7 separate regions of the Homo sapiens genome follow, and regions 1, 3, 4, 5, 6 and 7 are each linked to region 2. Evidence: promoter capture Hi-C in 16 types of primary human blood cells and fetal thymus (Javierre and others, 2016). All regions are on one chromosome and are shown on one strand. The core of a region is centred on a gene start or on the middle of the fragment in contact, and the rest is flanking DNA. Distances in the headings are between cores, read along the strand shown.

Region 1 (2,700 bases), core at 145-2,644, 530 kb after region 2:
TTGGGTACTAAGCTCACTACCTAGATGACAGATACAATCGTACTGCAAACCTCAGCATCACACAATAGACCTTTGTAACAAACTTGCACATCTACCCCCCACCACCAAATCTAAAATAAAGTTTGAAAAAGAAAAAATAAAAATAAAAAATTAGTTGCATTTCTATAATATATACTAACAACAAACAGCTTGAAAATGAAATTAAGAAAACATTCCCATTTACACTGGCATCAAAAAGAATAAAATACTTAAGAATAAGTTTAACGAAGGAGGTAAAAGATTTGTACAATAAGAACTATAAAACACAGATGAAAGAAATTGTAGAAGACACAAACAGAATAATTAATACCATTAAAATGCTCATGCTATACAAAGTGATCTGCAGATTCAGGCAATCCCTATGAAAATTTCAATGATGTATTTCACAGAAATTTTTTTAAAATCCTAAAATTTGTGTGGAGCCAAAAAAGACCCCAAATAGCTTAGGCAATCTTGAGAAAGAAGAATGAAGATGGAGGCATCACACTTCCTGATTTCAAAGTATATTACAAAGATATTGTAATTAAAACAGTATAGTACTTGTATAAAAAACAGACACATAGGCCGGGCATGGTGGCTCATGCCTGTAATCCCAGCACTTTGGAAGGCTGAGGCAGGTGGATCACCTGAGGTCTGAATTTCGAGACCAGCCTGGCCAACATGATGAAACCACATCTCTACTAAAAATACAAAAATTAGCCGAGCATGGTGGTGGGCACCTGTAATCCTAGCTACTTGGAAGGCTGAGGCACGAGAATCGCTTGAACCTGGGAGGCGGAGGTTGCAGTGAGTCAAGATTACTCCATTGCCCTCCAGCCTAGACAACAGAGTGAGATTCCGTCTCAAAAAAATAAATAAATAAATAAATAAAACAGGCCCATAGACCAATGGAACCCAATAGAAAGTTCAGAAATACACCCATATATACATGGTCAACTAGCCTTCAGCAAAGGCACCAAGAATACACAACGAGAAAATGATGGTATCTTCAATAAATCATGTTGGAAAAATGAAATATCCATATGCAACAAGAATGAAATTGGATCTTTATCTTACACAATACACAGAAATTAACTCAAAATAGATTAAAGAGTTAAAGGTAAGATCCAAAACTGTAAAATTCTAGAAGAAAAGAAGAGAAAAGCTCCATGTCATTGGTCTTGGCAAAGTTTTTTTGATATGACACCAAAAGCGCAGGCAGCAAAAGCAAAAATAGACAAGGGGATTTTCCACAAACTAAAACACTTCAGAGCGGCCAAGGAAATAATCAACAAAATGAAAAAGCAACCTACAGAATGGAGAAAATATTTGCAAGCCATATATCTGATAAGTGTTTTTTCTTTAGTTTTAATATCTTTTTTAAATATACTTAATTTAATTTTTGTGAGTACAGAGTAGGGGTATTTATGGTGTATGATAAGGATTAAATATCTAAAATATATAAAGAATTCATGCAACTCAATAGCAAAAAAAAAAAAAAAACACATAACCCAATTGAAAAATGGGCAAAGGACCTGAATAGACATTTTTCCAAAAAAGATATACAAATGGTTAAGGGGTTTATGAAAAGGTGCTCAACATTACTAAACATCGGGGAAATGCTAGTCAAAACCACAATGAGATATCATCTCACACCTGTTAGATGGCTATCACCAAAAGGTCAAAAGATAACAAGTGTTGGCAAGGATGTAAAGAAAAGAAAACACTTAAATGTTGTTGGTGGGAATGTAAATTCCTGCAGCCATTCTGAAAAACAGCGTGAAGGTTCTTCAAAAAATAAAAAATACGGGCGGGGCACGGTGGCTCAGGTCTGTAATCTCAGCACTTTGGGAGGCCAAGGCAGGAGTTTCAGACCAGCCTGACCAACACGGTGAAATGCCCATCTGTACTGAAAATATAAAAATTAGCCAGGCGTGGTGGCATGCACCTGTAGTCCCACCTACTCGGGAGGCTGAGGTAGGAGAACCATTTGAACTCGGAAGGCAGAGGTTGCAGAGAGCCGAGATCGCACCACTGCACTCCAGCCTGGGTGACAGAGCAAGACTCAGTCTCAAAAAAAAAAAAAAAAAAAAAAACTACCATAGGATCCATCAATTCCCACTACCGGGTATATATCCAAAGTAAATTAAGGACAGGCACAGTGGCTTAACCCTATAAATCCCAACACTTCTAGTTATACGGTATAGCCGTAAAAAGTGAAAGCATTACCTTGGATATTTGCATACCCATGTTTACAAGAGCATTCAGTGGCCATGCACAATGGCATGGTATTCAGCCATGAAAAGGGAATAAAATATTGATATGTGCTGCAGTGTAGATGGACCTTGAAAACACTGGGCTAAGTGAAAGTAGCCAGACATGGAAGGACAAATGTGTGATTCCACTGATCTGAGGTACCTAGAATAAGCAAATTCATAGAAACAGAGAATAGAATCGAGGTCACCAGGGGATGGGAGGAGGGGGAAGGAATGTGGTGTTATTTGTATAACGGGTAGAGAGTTTACATTGGGAATGACAAAAAAGTTTTGGAAATAGTGGTGACGTTTACACGAATGTATTGTGAATGTATTTAATACCACTGAATTGCACACTTACAAATGACTAAATGAGAAATTGATAATGCTAAATAGTCATATATATTAACAATGAAATGATAACTAT
Region 2 (2,700 bases), core at 79-2,578:
CGCACGCACATGCAAACAAAGAAGCCAGACAAGGCAAAGGAGAATCTCTCTAAGCCCCAATAATGGCCCTCAGTCATCCTTGTTAATGAGCCCGAATCAACTTTTCCTCAGAAAGAAAATGGCTTAATTGGAAAGCAGAGTTCAGCTCCTAAAACATCGTCATGGCCTTGGCAGCGTTTAGCCCCGAAATGGCCGTCCCCGGTCTCTCACCCCATTTCAGCCTCTCTTGAGGAGCCTCAATCGGAAGCGCTAAGGGGGCCCAGCCTCTGCGCGCCCTGGGTGCGGGATCGTGCCCGCGGGGTCCGGCCTCGCGCCCCACCCTTCGAGCGCCCGCCCCCACCCGCGCTCGGTGCTCCCGCTCCCTTGGCACCCCGAGACCACATCCCCACTTCGGGCACCCCGCATCCCTCGGCGCGTTCGGAAGCCAGCAGCCCACCGGGGAAGCTGGGCCGGCTGCAGCACCACAGCCTGTGCAGAGAGGCATCCGCACCCCGCGAAGTCCCTAGGCGCAGCCCCGGGTCCCCCGCTCTGCGCCTCATCACTGTCCAGTTCGAGTCCCAAACGGGCCTAGAGAGCAGCCGGGCAGCGAGGCTGGGCTCCGGGCAGAACGCGCTTCTCCAGCCGGACGGGGGTGCCCAGGATGACGCTCGCGGGGCCCCGGCCAGCTTGAGCAGCAAGGCGCGCGTCCCCAAGCTCCGCCTGGCGGTCTGCCCTGAACCGCCGGTTACCCTGCCCGCCCGCAGCTCCCAAGCCCCCGCGGCGGCCTTGGCACTACCACCTGCCCCGGCACAGTCTCGCCCTCCACCGCCCGGGCAGCCTTTCCCGAGCCTGCCTTGGGCTGGGGCTGCCCCTTCCCGGGGGTCCCTGGGGGTGCAGCGGCCATCTGAAACCTAGGCTCCGATGCCCCCGGCGTCGCTCCATTCCCCAGGCCCGCGGCGCGCGCGGCCTCGGATACTCACCGCCCGAGGCCCGCTGGGCTGCGGCCTCACTCGGCTCCACGCCCGGATCCTCGAACTTGCTGCTCTGCTTGGAGCCCCCTGAGCTGCTGGGTGTAGAGATTTGTTGCAATGTCGCCTATCATCCTGGAGACGCGGGTGCCTGCGGCTCAGCTCTCCGCCCGGCTCGGTGCGCTCTGTGAGGGGCTCCCGGGCTCTTCCGCCGCTCGCTGCCAGGCCAGGTGAGCGTTTGGTGGAGCTGAAAGCTCGACGCCTCAGTCCAGGTGGCTTTAAAACGGGTGCGTTTGGAGGTGCCCAAACCTAACCTGGGCTTCCTTCCAATCGGAGCAATTTCAAATCTTCATGCTCGTTCATTCCTATACCGGCTAATTCTGGTTTGGCAGGGAAAAAAAATGCAGTCACCTCACATGCACACTCTTGTGGCCGGTTGAAGTTTATAGCTTTGGCTGAGGTTCCGCTAAGGCGCTGCACATTTATCACTGGCGGAAAGGTCCTGAAATCTAATCCAGGATGCAAGTGAGACTAGCAGTAGCCTCCATTTCTCTGAGATGGGAGAGAAGGGATGAAACAGACCCTCACTGAAATATTTTTGGCCAAAGAGGACTCAAAGTCCCTTATTCTCTCTCTTTTAGAGACACGGGTTTCACTATATTGCCAGGCTGGTCTCGAACACTTGGACTCAAGGAATCCTCTGGCCTTGGCCTCCAAAGTGCTGGGATCACAAGCTGAGCCACCGTGACCGGCCAGTCCCTCATTCTTGTTTCCACCCTGGGTCCCACCTCTCCCTGCTCTTTCTGCACGTCCATTACCTACCTTCGTGGGCACCAGGCACAACTTTCATCTCAATACCTCCCTACCTCATTCCCAGCAGGGCACACAACATAGTGCTTTGCCTTGGACAGTTTTCTGTATTATTGAAGTGAATGTGTGAGTCGATGAAGCCTGTGCTGTTTTTTCCCGCCTGAAGGTTTTGCAGTAATTCTCTGCTGCTGTTGTGATAAACTGCCACAGTAATAGCAGAGGAAAACCACACAAATTCACTATTTTACAGTTCTGGAGGTCGGAAGTTTGAAATGGGTCATACTAGGCTGAGATCATGGTGTTGGCCACCTTGAAGGCTGTGTTCCTTCTCGTGGCTGTAGGGGAGAGCCACCAGCTTCTGCAGGCCGCCCACATTCCTTGGCTGGTGGCTCTTCCTCCATCTTCAAAGCCAGCACTGCTGCGTCATTTTGTCTTCTTTCCATACTCACATTGCCTTGTCTCCCCTTTTCTGCCCCCACCCCTGTCCACTTTTAAGGACCCTGGGGATTACATTGAGTCCAATGAGATAATCCAGATAATCTCTCTATTTTAAGGTCAGCTGATTAGCAACCTTAATTCCATCTGCAACCTTAATTCCCCTCTTGCCATGTAAGGTAACAAATTCACATGTTCCAGGGATTAGGATGTGGACATCTTTGGGAGACCATTATTCTGCCTACCACAGATTTCCTTCTTTCTTCTTTTCCTTTTTCTTTTCTTCCTTCTTTTTCGTTTCTTTGAAAAAAAATTCACATGTATTTCACATTGCCTTCCTCGGTCACCCAAGCTGGAGTGCAGTAGCATGATCACAGCTCATTGCAGCCTCAACCTCCTGGGCTCAGGTGATCCTCCCACCTCAGCCTCCTGAGTAGCTGGGACTACAGGCACACGCCACCATGCCTGGCTAATTTTTTTGACTTTTTATAGAGACGGAGTCTCATTA
Region 3 (2,700 bases), core at 28-2,527, 600 kb after region 2:
CAGGTGCCCCACCTGTCTCCCACCCCCAGGTCTCTGGTCACCTCCTGGATACTGTGAGTACTGGAGAACTTGCTGCTTGGGGACACCAGCACTCTCTCCCCTGAGGGCTGGGGCATATGCTCTCCAGACCCACCTTTCTCCTTCCCTCTCAGGACCCCTGGAGTGATCTCATCAACATCTGGCTTAACTCATCAGGGGATTTTCTGCAAGTGAGAAGGCTAATGCCTCTGGGGCCAGGCAGGCCTGGTGAATGTATGACAAAACTGCAGGGCATGGTAGGAGCGTGTACTGGTTTTCTAGGGCGCCGTAATGAAGTACACACAAACTGGGTGGCTTAGAACAATGGAACTGTGTCGACTCACAGGTCTGGAAGCCAGAAGCCTGAAATCGAGGTGTTAGCAGCACCATGCTCCCTCCAAAAGCACTGGGAAGGATCCATTCCAGGCCTCTCCCTGAGTTTCTGGGGGTTGCTGGCCGTTTTTGGCATTCCTTGGCTTGGAGACACGTCACCCAGTCTCTGCCTTCAGCATGTGGTATCTTCCCTGTGTGTGTCTGTGTTCCCATTTCCCCTTTTTCGAGGACAGAAGTCAGATCAGGGGCCCACCCTACTCCAGTATGACCTCATCTTAACTCATTACATCTGCAATGACCCTCTTTCCAAATAAGGTCACATTCTGAGATACTGGCAGTTAGAACTTCAACATGCATATTTGAAGAGGGTGCAATTTAGCCCCTAACAGGGCTGACGAGCCCTAGAGGGTGAGCAAGTCCACTCCAGTTTACTGTTGCCCTGCAGGGCTCTGGGAGCCTGTCCAGGGTTTCCTGGGACAAGGTACTTTCTGTGCCTAAACTGGGTGAGTCCCAGGAAGCCAGCTTGGTTAGTCACCTCAAATGGGGCCCTATCTTCTTATGTTTCAAGAGAAGTCAGAAACTCTGACTTCACGTGAAATCTCCCAGTTTTTGAATGGGCATCTAATTTGACAAATTTTAAAATCCTGGGCCCCATCTGAGGGTGTCTAGCCTGCGAGTGGCCAGTGGTCACCCATTGCCTAGCATGGCAGGGCAAATTGTAAGACTCCAAAAACTGCAAATAACAGCAACTGTGGCCATGAGCTCAGGCTGGGCAACTTGTTCTGGGGCCCTGCATCAGCCCCATCTCTTTGGAAGCCTTCCTGGGCCCCTACTACCCATGCTCAGCAATGCTTCTGGCTCCAGAAACTTCCAGCACTGTTTCAGATAGGGGGACTGGCATTTGCAAACTGTCTTGGAGTTGGTGACCCAGAAGGAGGGACCCCAGACTAGAGGAAGATGAGAAGGCAGAGAGTACCAGACAGTGCCATCTAGGGAGAAGAAACAAGTCATGAATATCTGATGTAGGGATGGGACGGACACTAAGTGGGAAAGGCCACCCTGCTGCCCAGCCCCCACCACCGCCAGCACCACCAGGCTGGCCATCTCTTTCCCACCTTCCCCACCACCATGCACGTGGTGCCATGCACCGCTGCTCCTCACCCACTCAGACCAGCTCCAGCACCTTTGGAGGTGAGATTAGCTTCTCACACAACTTCTAAGTCTTGATCATAGCACATGCTCTGCGGTTTTGCTGATGGTGACTAACGGAGGGAATTTCAGGCTAGATCAGAAAGGAAGGTGGAACAGGGTAAAGTGGGTGAGGATGAGGCTTTCTGGTTGCTCCTCCCCAGTGTCCAGGAAGTTGCCCATCCAAGCCTCTTTCCCCTGGTGGGGCTTGCCGTGCTGTGTCTCTGGTTTGCTGGCCTGGGCAGTGCCACACTGCCAGGCTTTGCAGATCTGGAAGGGGAAGGAACAAGCCAAAGAGGAAGTGGCATCAAGAAGAAGATGGGAAGGGCAGTCTCCCCCTTCCCTCTTGCCAGGCCTGCAGAATTGGGGAACCCGTATAAAAGACAACATCCCTGCTGGGAGCTGCACCCTCTGCCCGGCCCGGCCCCAGGTGCCCTGATCTGCCTGCCACGACCTGGGCAAAGCATGCTGTTCCTGCACATACTCGGGCTTTCTGAAACCTGAGAAGGCAAGGGGGGTGAGGGAGAGTCCCACACAGCCCAGGCCCAGCTGGTCAGGCTAATTTTAGGTTTTTCTCAGCCTGACTGAGGCCTACTAATCTCCACCATGCCAGAGAATGCACATGGAGCAGAGGCTGTCTTTACTCATGATGCCCCCTCATCCCTCCAAAAAGCTCCTTTTTCTGTCCAATTTCAATTTCTCTTTGACCTGCCCCAGGCCCACCCATCCCAGGAAATCTGCCCCGACCACCACCTCACAAAGAGAGCTCTCCCTTTCTCAGTGTGTGGGGTAACTGTGGTTGGAAACCACAGTACAGCCCTGTGTCCCCAGCCCTGGCACAGTGCTTAGCTCAAAATAAGCCCTTGGTAAGTGTGGGTGGAATGAATGAATGAGCGTTTTATTACACAGTGACAGCATGCTACATGCAGGTTAGGTCTAAAGTTAGCAAATAAGGTTAAAAGAGTTCAGAGTTTAAATTACCCTTGAAACTCCATCAGGAAGACAGCTTATTGGGATTGACATTAGATCTCCTCAAGAAGTCCAGTACAAATCCATTTCCTTTTGTTGAGGAGAGGGACCTGGACCGCTGGCCCAGCTCCCCAGCCCTTGGCCCAACACACGCACTTGCTCAGGAATTCCCGAGGTTTATGGGACATGCCT
Region 4 (2,703 bases), core at 78-2,577, 550 kb after region 2:
AGGGAGTTACACAGGAAGTTTAATGCCCTTTATATTTGTGTGTAATAAACACACATCATAAGAAAGGAATTCCCTTAGCCGGGCGGGGTGGCTCACGCCTGTAATCCCAGCACTTTGGGAGACCGAGGCGGGCGGATCATCTGAGGTCAGGAGTTCAAGACCAGCCTGGCCAATATGGTGAAACTTTGTCTCCACTAAAAACACAAAAATTAGCCGGGCGTGATGGCACATGCCCATAATCCCAGCTACTAAGGACGCTGAGGCAGGAGAATCTCTTGAGCCCGGGTGGTGGAGGTTGCAGTGAGCTGAGATGGCGCCACTGCACTCAAGCCTGGGTGACAGAGCGAGACTCCGTCTGGAAAAAAAAGAAAAAAGAAAAAAAAATCATTTCATTTCCAAACTTATAAATAACTGGCAACAAGTATTTTTGCAGAAAGCACTAGAGCAAAGTACTCTCCATCACAGCTGAAAAAGGGTTTTATTTAACTTGGAACAGCTGCAGGCACAGAGACTGAAATGTTCCTGCCATTGAACATTGAGTTAGGGAGTTCCCAGCTACACAGGGCAGGGCAGCATCTCTGTAGGACACCTGGAACCAAATGGGCTGAACTGGAACAGAATGAAAGAGAAATCCAGGTGGGACCAGAGAAGTAACTATTCCAAAGCCCTGCTCAGGTGAGTTTTGACTCAAGAAGAATCAGAAATCAGAAGTTCATCTTGGGGCTTCCTATATCTATTAATTTTCTGTTGTCTTTTTTTTTTTTTTTTTTGAGACAGAGTCTCACTCTGTCACCCAGGCTGGAGTGCGTGATCTCAGCTCACCGCAACCTCCGCCTCCCGGGTTCAAGCAATCCTCCCACCTCAGCGTCCCAAGTAGCTGGAGCTACAGGTGCCTGCCACCATGCCCAGCTAATTTTTGTATTTTTAGTAGAGACAAGGTTTCACCATGTTGGCCAGGATGGTCTTGAACTCCTGGCCTCAAGTGATCTGCCCACTTCAGCTTCCCAAAGTGCTGGGATTACAGACATGAGCCACTGCGCCTGGACTTGTTGTCTTAAACTCTTAAGTTAGAGAACTTTCCAGGTCATGGCTAAGACAGACATATTGACCAGAGACACCATCAAAACACTTGCAGCCCAAACTGTGAAGTCATTTCAATATGACACCCAGTGACTCCTTTTGCAATTGTCATTCTCAACCCATTTACACTCTTTCTTCTTATAAGAAGAGATTTTTTGGCTGGCTGCAGTGGCTCACACCTGTAATCCCAGCACTTTAGGAGGCCGAGGCAGGCAGATTTCTTGAGTCCAGGAGCTCAACACCATCCTGGACAACATGGCAAAACCCTGTCTCTACAAAAAATACAAAAATTAGCTTGGCATGGCAGTTCACAACTGTGGCCCAGCTACTCAGGAGGCTGAGGTGGGAGGATTGCTTGAGGCTGGGAGGCAGGTTTCAGTGAGCTGTGATCATGCCACTGCACTCCAGTCTGGTCAAAAGAGTGAAGCCCAGAAGAAAGAGAAAGAGAAGAAAAGAGAAGGAAGAGAAGGGAAGGGAAAGGAAAGGAAAGGAGAAGGAAGAGAGAGAGAGAGAAAGGAAAGAAAGAGAGAGAAAGAGAAGGGAGGGAGGGAGGGAAGGAAGGAGGGACGGAGGGAGGTAAGGAAGGAAGGAAGGAAATGAAGGGGAAACAAAGGAAGAAAGAAAGGGAAAGGAAAGGAAGAGAGAGAAAGAAAAAAAGAGAAAGGAAAGGGAGGGGAGGGGAGGGGAGAGGAGAGGAGGGGAGAGGACGGGAGGGGAGGGGAGGGGAGAAGAGAAGAGAAGAGAAGAGAAGAGAAGAGAAGAGAAGAGAAGAGAAGAGAAGAGAAGAGAAGAGAAGAGAAGGTCACTTCCAAGATGGCCAAATAGCAACAGCTCCAGTCTGCAGCCCCTAGCGAGATCAATGCAGAAGACGGTTGATGTCTGCATTTCCAACTGAGGTACCTGGTTCATCTCACTGGGACTGGTTGGACAGTGGATACAGCCCATGGAGGGTGAGCTGATGCAGGGCAGGGTGTCGCCTCACCTGGGAAGTGCAAGGGGTTGGGGGATTTCTCCTTCCTAGCCAAGGGAAGCCATATGACAGACTGTACCTGGAGAAATGGTATACTTCTGACCAAATACTGCACTATGCCCACAGTCCTAGCAACTGGCAAACCAGCAGATACCCTCCCATGCCTGGCTCAGCGGGTCCCATGCCAACAGAGCCTTGCTCACTGCTAGCACAACAGTGTGAGATCAACCTGCGATGCTGTAGCTGGACGAGCGGAGGGGAGTCCGTCATTGCTGAGGCTTGACTAGCTCACAGTATAAACAAAGAGGCCTGGAAACATGAACCGGGCGGAGCCCACCTCAGCTCAGCAAGGCCTACTGCCTCTATAGATTCCACCTCCGGGGGCATGGCATAATAGAACAAAAGGCAGCAGACAGCTTCTGCAGGCTTAAATGTCCCTGTGTGACAGCTCTGAAGAAAGCAGTGGTTCTCACAGCATGGCATTTGAACACCAAGAACAGACAGACTACCTCCTCAGTTAGGTCCCTGACCCCCATGTAGCCTGACTGGGGAACACCTCCCAGTAGGGGCCAACAGACACCTCAAACAGGCGGGTGCCCCTCTGGGACAAAGCTTCCAGAGGAAGGATCAGGCAGCAATATTTGCTGTTCTGC
Region 5 (2,700 bases), core at 150-2,649, 650 kb after region 2:
TATAAGTATGGGGTTTGGTAACTTGATTTTATTTGAATGTTTGTATATTGCAAATACGTATGCCACACAGGGTCTTTATTACCTTGGAATATTTACTAAAGTTTTCTGTTTTGATCAACTTTTGTGGGATTACAGATTTCTTTAGTTATTGCCATACTTTCCCAAGAGCCTTTTTTCCAGATTGATGACTAATCACTCACAGTTTAGCCATCTGCCATGAAAATACACAAATCCAACCTCCCCAACCCCCAAAAATAAAATTCAGTAGTAGGACGAATTTTGTTTCAGGTATTGTCTTTTGTTTACCTTTCTGGCATTGTTTCTATTCCAGCTCTATTTTATTTTTTAATTTAAAAAATGTTTTAATTAAAAGAGATGGTGTCTCATTCTGTTGCCCAGGCTGGTCTTGAACTCCTGGGCTTATGCCATCCTCCTGCCCCAGCCTCCCAAAGCACTGGGATTATAGGCCTGACCACACTGGCCTCCAGCCCTATTTTAAAAGGTCAGGCCGAGCGGGGTAGCTCACTCCTATAATCCCAGTGCTTTGGGAGGCCAAGGTGGGAGGATTGCTTGAGCCCAAGAGTTGGAGGCCGATCTGAGCAACATAGCAAGACCCTATATCCACAAAAATAAAAAATTAGCCGGGCATGGTGGTGTGTGTGCCTGTTGTCCTAGCTACTCAAGAGGCTGAGGCAGGAGGGATTGCCTGAGCCCAGGAATTTGCAGCCTCAGTGAATTTTGATCACTGCATTGCAGCCTGAGGTGACAGAGTGATACCCCATCTCAAAAAATGTATATATAAAATAAAAATAATAAAAATAAAAATTCATTTTCCTCTTTTTCATTGCTTCTTTTAATTGGGCATTTGATTTTATGAACGTCTTTACATGTTACAGAAATGGGACTGTGGAAGGTGGATTAATTTGGATAACAGAAAAACTGGTAAACATTTTTTTTTACACACTTTGATAAAATTGTGGGGAAAAAATATCAAATCTGAATCTCTGGGTTAAATTACTTGTGACTTGTTATTACTGAGGTGTAAAGATCTGGCATTATTATGAAGTCAGGTAATCTAAATTTGCATAGCAATTTAGTCATCAGTATCTTTTGGCCATTGTAAGAAGACTTGTATTAGAGCCTTCTTTAATTACAGAAGGAATTGAGCTGTGTGAGAGTTCGTACGTTCTGTGCCCTTAGTGACTTTCCGACCGGATCCCAACCACTACTTTTTAAAAAATTCTCCTGCAAGGGTGTCTTGCAGTGAGAAAGAGAGACTGGACTCAACTCCCCTCATCTCTACAGTCCGGAATATGGGGGCAGAGCAAAGTGAAGCAAATACTTCTGCCGTCACCATTTGTAGAGTAGAACAGTCTGTGAATAAAATGATCAGTGTTCTGCCTCTGTTTCTCAGGCCCTCCGAGGATTATGAGAAGAGTTACTACAGGCCTAGGTGGCAGATCATAGACTGGTGGTGATGAAATCAGGTTAACAGCTAGTTGCCATCTGCATTTTTGGGGGGTGTTGTGCCATTTCTGTCTCACTGAGCTTCCCAGTCCCACTGTGCTTTTAACTTTTAAAACAGAAGGGGTGAGGGGACAGCAGAATTGTGGTTTATAGCAGCTGTGATGTTAAGCCTGCAGAGGAAGGCAGGATGGCATGCAGAGAATTGCGGGAGGTCATTCGGGTGTGAAGTGGCTCCAAAGGAGGGAGGTAAATCCTGCCTTGGCCCTTCATGTTGACCATATCCAGTGCATACCTATTTGTATGATCTTTAATAGCTTTTGTCTTGGTACTCAGAATATAGTGTTTAAGTTATAGATTGTGTTTGCTTGTTTATGTGTGTATTCATATGCATGTTTCAAAGATGGGGAAAATCTAGCCATTATTTAGTGGCAGTTTGTTTTTATATGGTAATTATTCTTTGGGAGCATTATCCAGCAAAAATTGTTGAGGACCACGGAAGTATGATACTGTTAAAAGATCACACACTTTATTTGGTAATACATTTGAGAAACAAAACATACATTGTGTATCTTGATCTTAATTAAGTTCCTACTTTGTGATCTTGTCTCATGAACTGTAACTTGCTCTTTACAGTGTACTGACTATTAACATGCTAGTCACTGTTGTCTCCCTCCACAGTAGATTATATATCAGCTGTATTGAGGCACTAGGAAGAAATACTTGGACAGGTTTCTGTTTACATGTCTGTAGTTAAGGCCCGCTTTTAGGTTTATAGAATTTGGAGAGGTAGTGTTAGCCAGTGGTTAAAAGCGCAGGTGCAGCCAGACTGCCTAGATTTTGAACCCTCATTCCTCTGCTGTGGGCTCTATAACCTTAAGTTCCTTCTGTCTAGCTTGAATTCCTTGGATGGTAATAGTAGACCATATCTGAGAGGGTTGTAGGACGATTAAATGAGTTGCTACATCTGATGTGCTGCCGTGTATCAGATGCCTAGACATAAGTTTTGTGATGCTCATGATAGGCTTTTCCAGGGGGGAGAAACTTTAGAACTTCAGAAACAACCTAGGCAGAATGGTTCTTTCTGCAGGTGGGAACACTGAGGCCCACCGTAACTAGAGCAGAGTTTGGTTCACTTTGAGCAGTAACAGGTGTAGCTTTCTGCAAAGTGAAGTCTCTTTTCTAGGGTTTTATGGCTTATTAGCCACAGGACTGAATCTGGAGCCTGGTTTTCTT
Region 6 (2,700 bases), core at 14-2,513, 580 kb after region 2:
CAGGAATTCGAGACCAGCCTGGCTAACATGGTAAAACCCCATCTCTACTAAAAATATGAAAATTAGCCAGGTGTGATTGTAGGTGTCTGTAATCCCAGCTACTCAGGAGGCTGAGGCACAGGCATGAGAATCACTTGAACCCAGGAGGAGAGGGTAGCAGTGAGATGAGATCGTACCACTGCACTCCAGCCTGGCTGACAGGGCGAGACTCTCTCAAAAAAAAAAAAAGGGGAAATTTTTTTTTTTTTTGAGACGGAGTCTTGTTCTGTTGTCCAGGCTGGAGTGCAGTGGCACGATCTCGGCTCACTGCAACCTCCAACTCCTGGGTTCAAGGGATTCTCCTGCCTCAGCCTCCCAAGTAGCTGGGATTACAGGCATGCGCCACCACGCCCGGCTTATTTTTGTATTTTTAGTAGAGACGGAGTTTCGCCATGTTGGCCGGGCTGGTCTCGAACTTCCTACATCAGGTGATCCGCCCACCTCAGCCTCCCAAAGTTCTGGGATTATGCATGTGAGCCACTGCGCCCGGCCGAGAAAAATTATTTCTACTGGTTTGTTTCTAGTTTGTAAAAATCCCATTGATTCTTATATATAGACTTTGTATCCAGCAACTTTTGCAGCCGAGTCTTAACTCACAGAATAAAGGGTGGGACGTTCCTGCTTCGGTTCATGCCTAAGAAAGCTCAGTGACAGGCAGATTCTGAAAGTGATGTTCCAGACTAGAAAACATGGAGTGTCTGTGTTTTCAAGGATCTGTGGGCTTTCCCCCAAAGCTTTCTATTGCCTCTCTCCACTCCTCAGTCACTTACCAGGCTCCCAGTGCATCATGGGCAAATGGAAATCTGGGAAATGGAACTTTAAGTTAGAGCCAGACTAGCTGGGAGAAGGGCAGGCACGAGGAGAAGGAGCGGTGGCTCAGCTTCTGTGAGTCCATGGAGGCCAGAAGTCCATCCTCCAGTTCCCTATCTACCCCCCTATATTTTCTCATGCTTTATTCTCATTCCTCATTACAAAAGGGATGTGAGGTGATGCACAAAACTACCTAATTTGGAAAGATAAAATTAATATAGAAGAAGCCTGAGAAACACAAACCCCTTCTCTACAAAAACATTTTGAAAAAAATTAGCCAGGCATGGTAGCACACACCTGTAGCCCCAGCTATCTGGAGGCTGAGGTGGGAGGATCGCTTGAGCTCAGGAGTTCGGGGCTGCAATGAGCTATGATCGTGCCACTGCACTCCAGCTTGGGTAACAGAACGAGACCCTGTAAAAAAAATTAATATATAAGGAAATTGAAGGGAAAATGGGGACACAGACATAAACTGAAATCAGGCTTGGGTGAGCAAAACTATGGAAGGAAAACACATCAGAGTCTAGGGGTTTGGAGAAGCCAGGGTCAAAGGCAGTGCCAGGGCCAGAAGCAGACCCAGATGTTAGAGCAGACCCAAGGGTGTGCCTCATGCCTTAGAGGGTTGAAATTTATTCTGACCACCGTGATCTCTCCTCTAGATGACTGCATTCACTCCTCTCTGTTCACCCGGCTTCTAGCTCTGCTTCCTCCGCACAATCTACTGTCCAACTAGCAGCCAGAGAGATCTTTTAGAAACACAAATTGGCCCCAGAATGGGAGAAAATATCTGCAAGCCACGTGTGATTAAGGGTCTAGCCTAGGCTGGGTGCAGTGGGTCATACCTGTAATCCCTGTCACGCGCGTTCGTGTAAAGAGACCACCAAACAGGCTTTGTGTGAGCAATAAAGCTTTTTAATCACCTGGGTCCAGGGCGGCTGAGTCCAAAAAGAGTAAGCAAAGGGAGATAAGGGTGGGACAGTTTTATAGGATTTGGGTGGGTAGTGGAAAATTACAGTCAAATGGGGTTTTTCTCTTGCGGGCAGGGGCGGGGGTCACAAGATGCTCAGTGGGGGAGCTTCTAAGGAATTTCACAAGGTTTATTGATCAGTTAAGGTGGGGCAGGAACAAATCACAATGGTGCAATGTCATCAGTTAAGGCAGGAACCAGCCATTTTCACTTCTTTTGTGATTCTTCAGTTGCTTCAGGCCATCTGGATGTGTACATGCAGGTCACTGGGGATATGATGGCTTAGCTTAGGCTCAGAGGCCTGACATTCCTGTCTTCTTATATTAATAAGAAAAAAAAAACAAGATAGTATTGAAGTGTCGGGGCAGTGACAATCCCAGCACTTTCGGAGGCCAAGGTGAGTGGATCACTTTGTCTGAGGCGTTTGAACCAGAGCAACTCCGTCTTGATTAGGAGCCGGGTAAAATAAGGCCGAAATCTACTGGGCTGCATCCCCAGATGGTTAAGCCTTCTAAGTCACTGGATGAGACAGGAGGTCAGCACAAAATACAGGTCATAAAGACCTTGCTGATTAAACAGGTTGCAGTAAAGAAGCCAGCTAAAACCCACCCAAACCAAGATGACCAAGAGAGTGACCTCTGGTGGTCCTCACTGCTACACTCCCACCAGCGCCATGACAGTTTACAGATGCCATGGCAACGTCAGGAAGTTACCCTATATGGTCTAAAAGGGGAAGCATGAATAACCCACCCATTGTTTAGCATATAATCAAGAAATAACCATAAAAAATAAGCAACCAGCAGCCCTCGGGGCTGCTCTGTCTATGGAGTAGCCATACTTTTATTCCTTTACTTTCCTAATAAACTTGCTTTCCCTTTACTTTA
Region 7 (2,723 bases), core at 104-2,603, 620 kb after region 2:
CCACAGAGGTCCTTGACTACTCCTTGCAACCCTTGCTGGACACCCCACTGCTCCTGGCCCCCCTAACTGGAAGACTTTGGTTTCATCCTCACTTAGGTAGTTGGACATGGAGCTGTCTGCCGACTTGGGAACCTCTCAGCCATGCATATAGGGCCATGATATTGCTAGAGGACTTTTGTTCTTCTGCTTATTTTTAAAAGACCAGTCCTGTTCAAAGTCATCTCCAAGCACATGAATTACATAAAAATAGGCTTTAAGGCTTAGAGAGATGAAACTTGGCATCAGAGGTCCCTGAGGAACGGCCACTGCAGCTTGACACCACTTTGAGCCAGGAAAACTTAGTCTTGGCCACTTAGAGTAGGCACTTAACTTTGAACGATTGGAATTTTCAAACAACCAGGTTCTAGGCAACCACTTGGTTAAAACCTTGTTATACAAGCCCAAATAACAGGAGTCAGCCAAGACCACCCTGACTTGAAGAAGATTCTCCATCGTGAAACAGTTATCACTGAGCAATCTTAAAATCCACCAGCATAACCAGATACCAGCTGCAAGCCAATGCCTACCACAGCCGTCCCTAGACAAGGTCTCCCACCCATTCTGCAGGGATTCCAAAAGTGCAGAGAACGGGGCAGGGGGCTAGCTCTGCCATTTTGACCCCTCCAGCATGTTCCTTGGGGAAAAAGCCAGAATACGGGTGTGCATTCTGCCATGACATCAACGTAGAGGGACGCAGATGTCAGATCTTCTGGCAAGACATACTCAGGTCAAGGTCAGGCCTAGGAAGACAATGAAGACTTCTTTACTCATTTCTGATGCCAGAGCCTCTGAAAAACTGGACTCTGTAATATTCTTGGTCCCTTGAAATGCTGGTGCTATGGATGACATAAACAAGACAATCCACACCATTTCTTGTACCAGAGCCCCACTTCCAGCCATCATAGCTCTGTTCATCAAGGTTGAGTCCTAAATCCACGAACTACCCACTGGCCACAGTTTGCATCCCAATTCTGGAGACATAGTACAAAGCCTAATGTATGTCAGTCTACCTCTCTATCCCCCATCTTTGTTGAAAGTGTGGCCAGACGCAGTGCTAGGATTCACACCTGTAATCCTAGCACTTTGGTAGGCCGAGGCAGGTAAATCACTTGACGTCAGGAGTTTGAGACCAGTCTGGCCAACATGGTAAAGCCCTGCCTCTACAAAAATGCAAAAATTAGCCCCGTGTGGTGGCGGGCACCTGCAGTCCCAGCTACTTAGGAGGCTGAGGCAGGAGAATCACTTGAACCCGGGAGGCAGAGGTTGCAGTGAACCACTGCACTCCAGCCTGGGAAACAGAGCAAGACTTCATCTCAAAACAAAAAACAATAAGTGGGCCAGTCCTCAGAGGCATCCTACCACCGCTACACACAAGACTGATTTTCAGCTGGAATCCACTGTATTTAGTTGGTGCCTGTATAGTTATACTTACTGAATAATTTTAACATCTCCCCTGGCTACATGCCATACAGTCAGCATAACTCATTCTCCTATCTTGCTTCTGATGAGTCTTTCTACTTTGTTATTATTATTATTTTTTTTTAGATAGAGTCGCACTCTGTCACCCAGGCTAGAGTGCAGTGGCATGGTCTTGGCTCACTGCAACCTCCACTTCCCAAGTTCAAGCAATTCTCATGCCTCAGCCTCTGAGTAGCTGGGATTACAGGCAGGCACCAACACGCCTGGCTAATTTTTGTATTTTTAGTAGAGACGGGGTTTTGCCATGTTGCCCAGACTGGTCTTGAACTCCTGGCCTCAAGTGCTGTGCCCACCTCGGCCTCCCAAAGTGCTGGTATTACAGGTGTGAGCCACCATGCCCGGCTTACTTTGTTATTCTTTATATGACCCAGAACACACTTTCTGCAGTAAGTACAGATTCTCAAGCACCATGAATTGCCTCCTCTGTACAGGCACTGGGCAAGGCCTGGGAACATCACAGAGAATACCCAAAGTCCCTAAGAATTCTCAGGGGTTCCCCGGTTATCACTAGCCCGCGGGACCTCGCCACCGACATGCTTGTTTTATCAAGCTGAAGCAGGTATCTGACACATCAAAGGAAAATCAACTATGGATGGTGGAGCCTCAGGCAGCCAAAGAGATGATTACAGAATGGAGACATCATCTGGGTCTCCTCACCCTTTTTGTCACATGACCTTGCTGAAATCAGGAAGAGCACCTTTCGATTCCTGTGAAGTTGCAGAGATGGCAAGTCCTGTTGCTTGCTGCCTTCAAACACCCCTGACTACACACTCAACCCAGTGGAGCCATCACTGCCTGTCCTGTGCCCCCACCAAGAAGGGGAATGAGATGAGGTCAGATTGATTAAAAATGTGCATGCCTTTTATTTTTTTGGCCTCCCCCTCCCCAGATTGTAGGGCTTCCCCTTGGCAGTTTTTTTTTGTTTGTTTGTTTGTTTGTTTTGTTTTGTTTTGTTTTTTGAGACAGAATTTCGCTCCTGTTGCCCAGGCTGGAGTACAATGGCGTGATCTTGGCTCACTGCAACCTCCACCTCCCAGGTTCAAGTGATTCTCCTGCCTCAGCCTCCCAAGTAGTGGAGATTACAGGTGTGCACCACCATGCCTGGCTAATTTTGTATTTTTAGTAGAGACCAGGTTTCACCATGTTGGTCAGGCTGGTCTCAAACTTCTGACCTCAGGTGATCCACCCTTCTCAATCTCCCAAAA

What was found. The method cuts DNA at HindIII sites, captures the fragments that hold promoters and counts their contacts. A CHiCAGO score of 5 or more calls a contact.
Region 1: a contact is called between a fragment that was not itself captured here and the fragment with the promoter of SLC16A14 in region 2, in 1 of 17 cell types (megakaryocytes). The highest score is 7.2, in megakaryocytes.
Region 3: a contact is called between a fragment that was not itself captured here and the fragment with the promoter of SLC16A14 in region 2, in 2 of 17 cell types (total B cells and naive CD4 T cells). The highest score is 5.2, in total B cells.
Region 4: a fragment that was not itself captured here is called in contact with the fragment with the promoter of SLC16A14 in region 2 in 2 of 17 cell types (megakaryocytes and neutrophils); the score reaches 6.1 in megakaryocytes.
Region 5: a fragment that was not itself captured here is called in contact with the fragment with the promoter of SLC16A14 in region 2 in 2 of 17 cell types (total B cells and naive B cells); the score reaches 6.6 in total B cells.
Region 6: a contact is called between a fragment that was not itself captured here and the fragment with the promoter of SLC16A14 in region 2, in 5 of 17 cell types (naive B cells, fetal thymus, total B cells and 2 more). The highest score is 6.6, in naive B cells.
Region 7: a contact is called between a fragment that was not itself captured here and the fragment with the promoter of SLC16A14 in region 2, in 1 of 17 cell types (total B cells). The highest score is 7.0, in total B cells.

What each region holds. Positions count from the first base shown.
Region 1 is chr2:230,598,797-230,601,496 of GRCh38, forward strand. No RefSeq gene overlaps it. Among named protein-coding and RNA genes, the nearest start is that of LINC01907, 100 kb to the right of the region's middle. The HindIII fragment of the contact is 8,478 bases long and covers 1-2,700 here.
Region 2 is chr2:230,067,596-230,070,295 of GRCh38, forward strand. It overlaps SLC16A14 (solute carrier family 16 member 14), which reads right to left and starts at 1,329. Exons shown (of 5, transcript NM_152527.5): 1 at 960-1,329. All of the region lies in intron 1 of LOC107985995 (a long non-coding RNA gene), which reads left to right. RefSeq lists enhancers at 37-807, 1,203-1,322, 1,333-1,392 and silencers at 183-432, 703-972. The HindIII fragment of the contact is 4,045 bases long and covers 1-2,700 here.
Region 3 is chr2:230,666,807-230,669,506 of GRCh38, forward strand. No RefSeq gene overlaps it. Among named protein-coding and RNA genes, the nearest start is that of LINC01907, 32 kb to the right of the region's middle. RefSeq lists enhancers at 1-477, 428-722, 692-1,171, 1,212-1,261, 1,282-1,361 and 2 more. The HindIII fragment of the contact is 4,213 bases long and covers 1-2,700 here.
Region 4 is chr2:230,617,377-230,620,079 of GRCh38, forward strand. No RefSeq gene overlaps it. Among named protein-coding and RNA genes, the nearest start is that of LINC01907, 82 kb to the right of the region's middle. The HindIII fragment of the contact is 2,666 bases long and covers 1-2,660 here.
Region 5 is chr2:230,716,214-230,718,913 of GRCh38, forward strand. All of the region lies in intron 1 of CAB39 (calcium binding protein 39), which reads left to right. Among named protein-coding and RNA genes, the nearest start is that of CAB39, 4.7 kb to the left of the region's middle. The HindIII fragment of the contact is 4,922 bases long and covers 1-2,700 here.
Region 6 is chr2:230,645,354-230,648,053 of GRCh38, forward strand. No RefSeq gene overlaps it. Among named protein-coding and RNA genes, the nearest start is that of LINC01907, 54 kb to the right of the region's middle. The HindIII fragment of the contact is 984 bases long and covers 772-1,755 here.
Region 7 is chr2:230,691,455-230,694,177 of GRCh38, forward strand. All of the region lies in intron 3 of LOC124907996 (formin-like protein 16), which reads right to left. LINC01907 (long intergenic non-protein coding RNA 1907) reads right to left here. Exons shown (of 4, transcript NR_040038.1): 4 at 1-779. Among named protein-coding and RNA genes, the nearest start is that of LINC01907, 7.7 kb to the right of the region's middle. The HindIII fragment of the contact is 8,742 bases long and covers 1-2,723 here.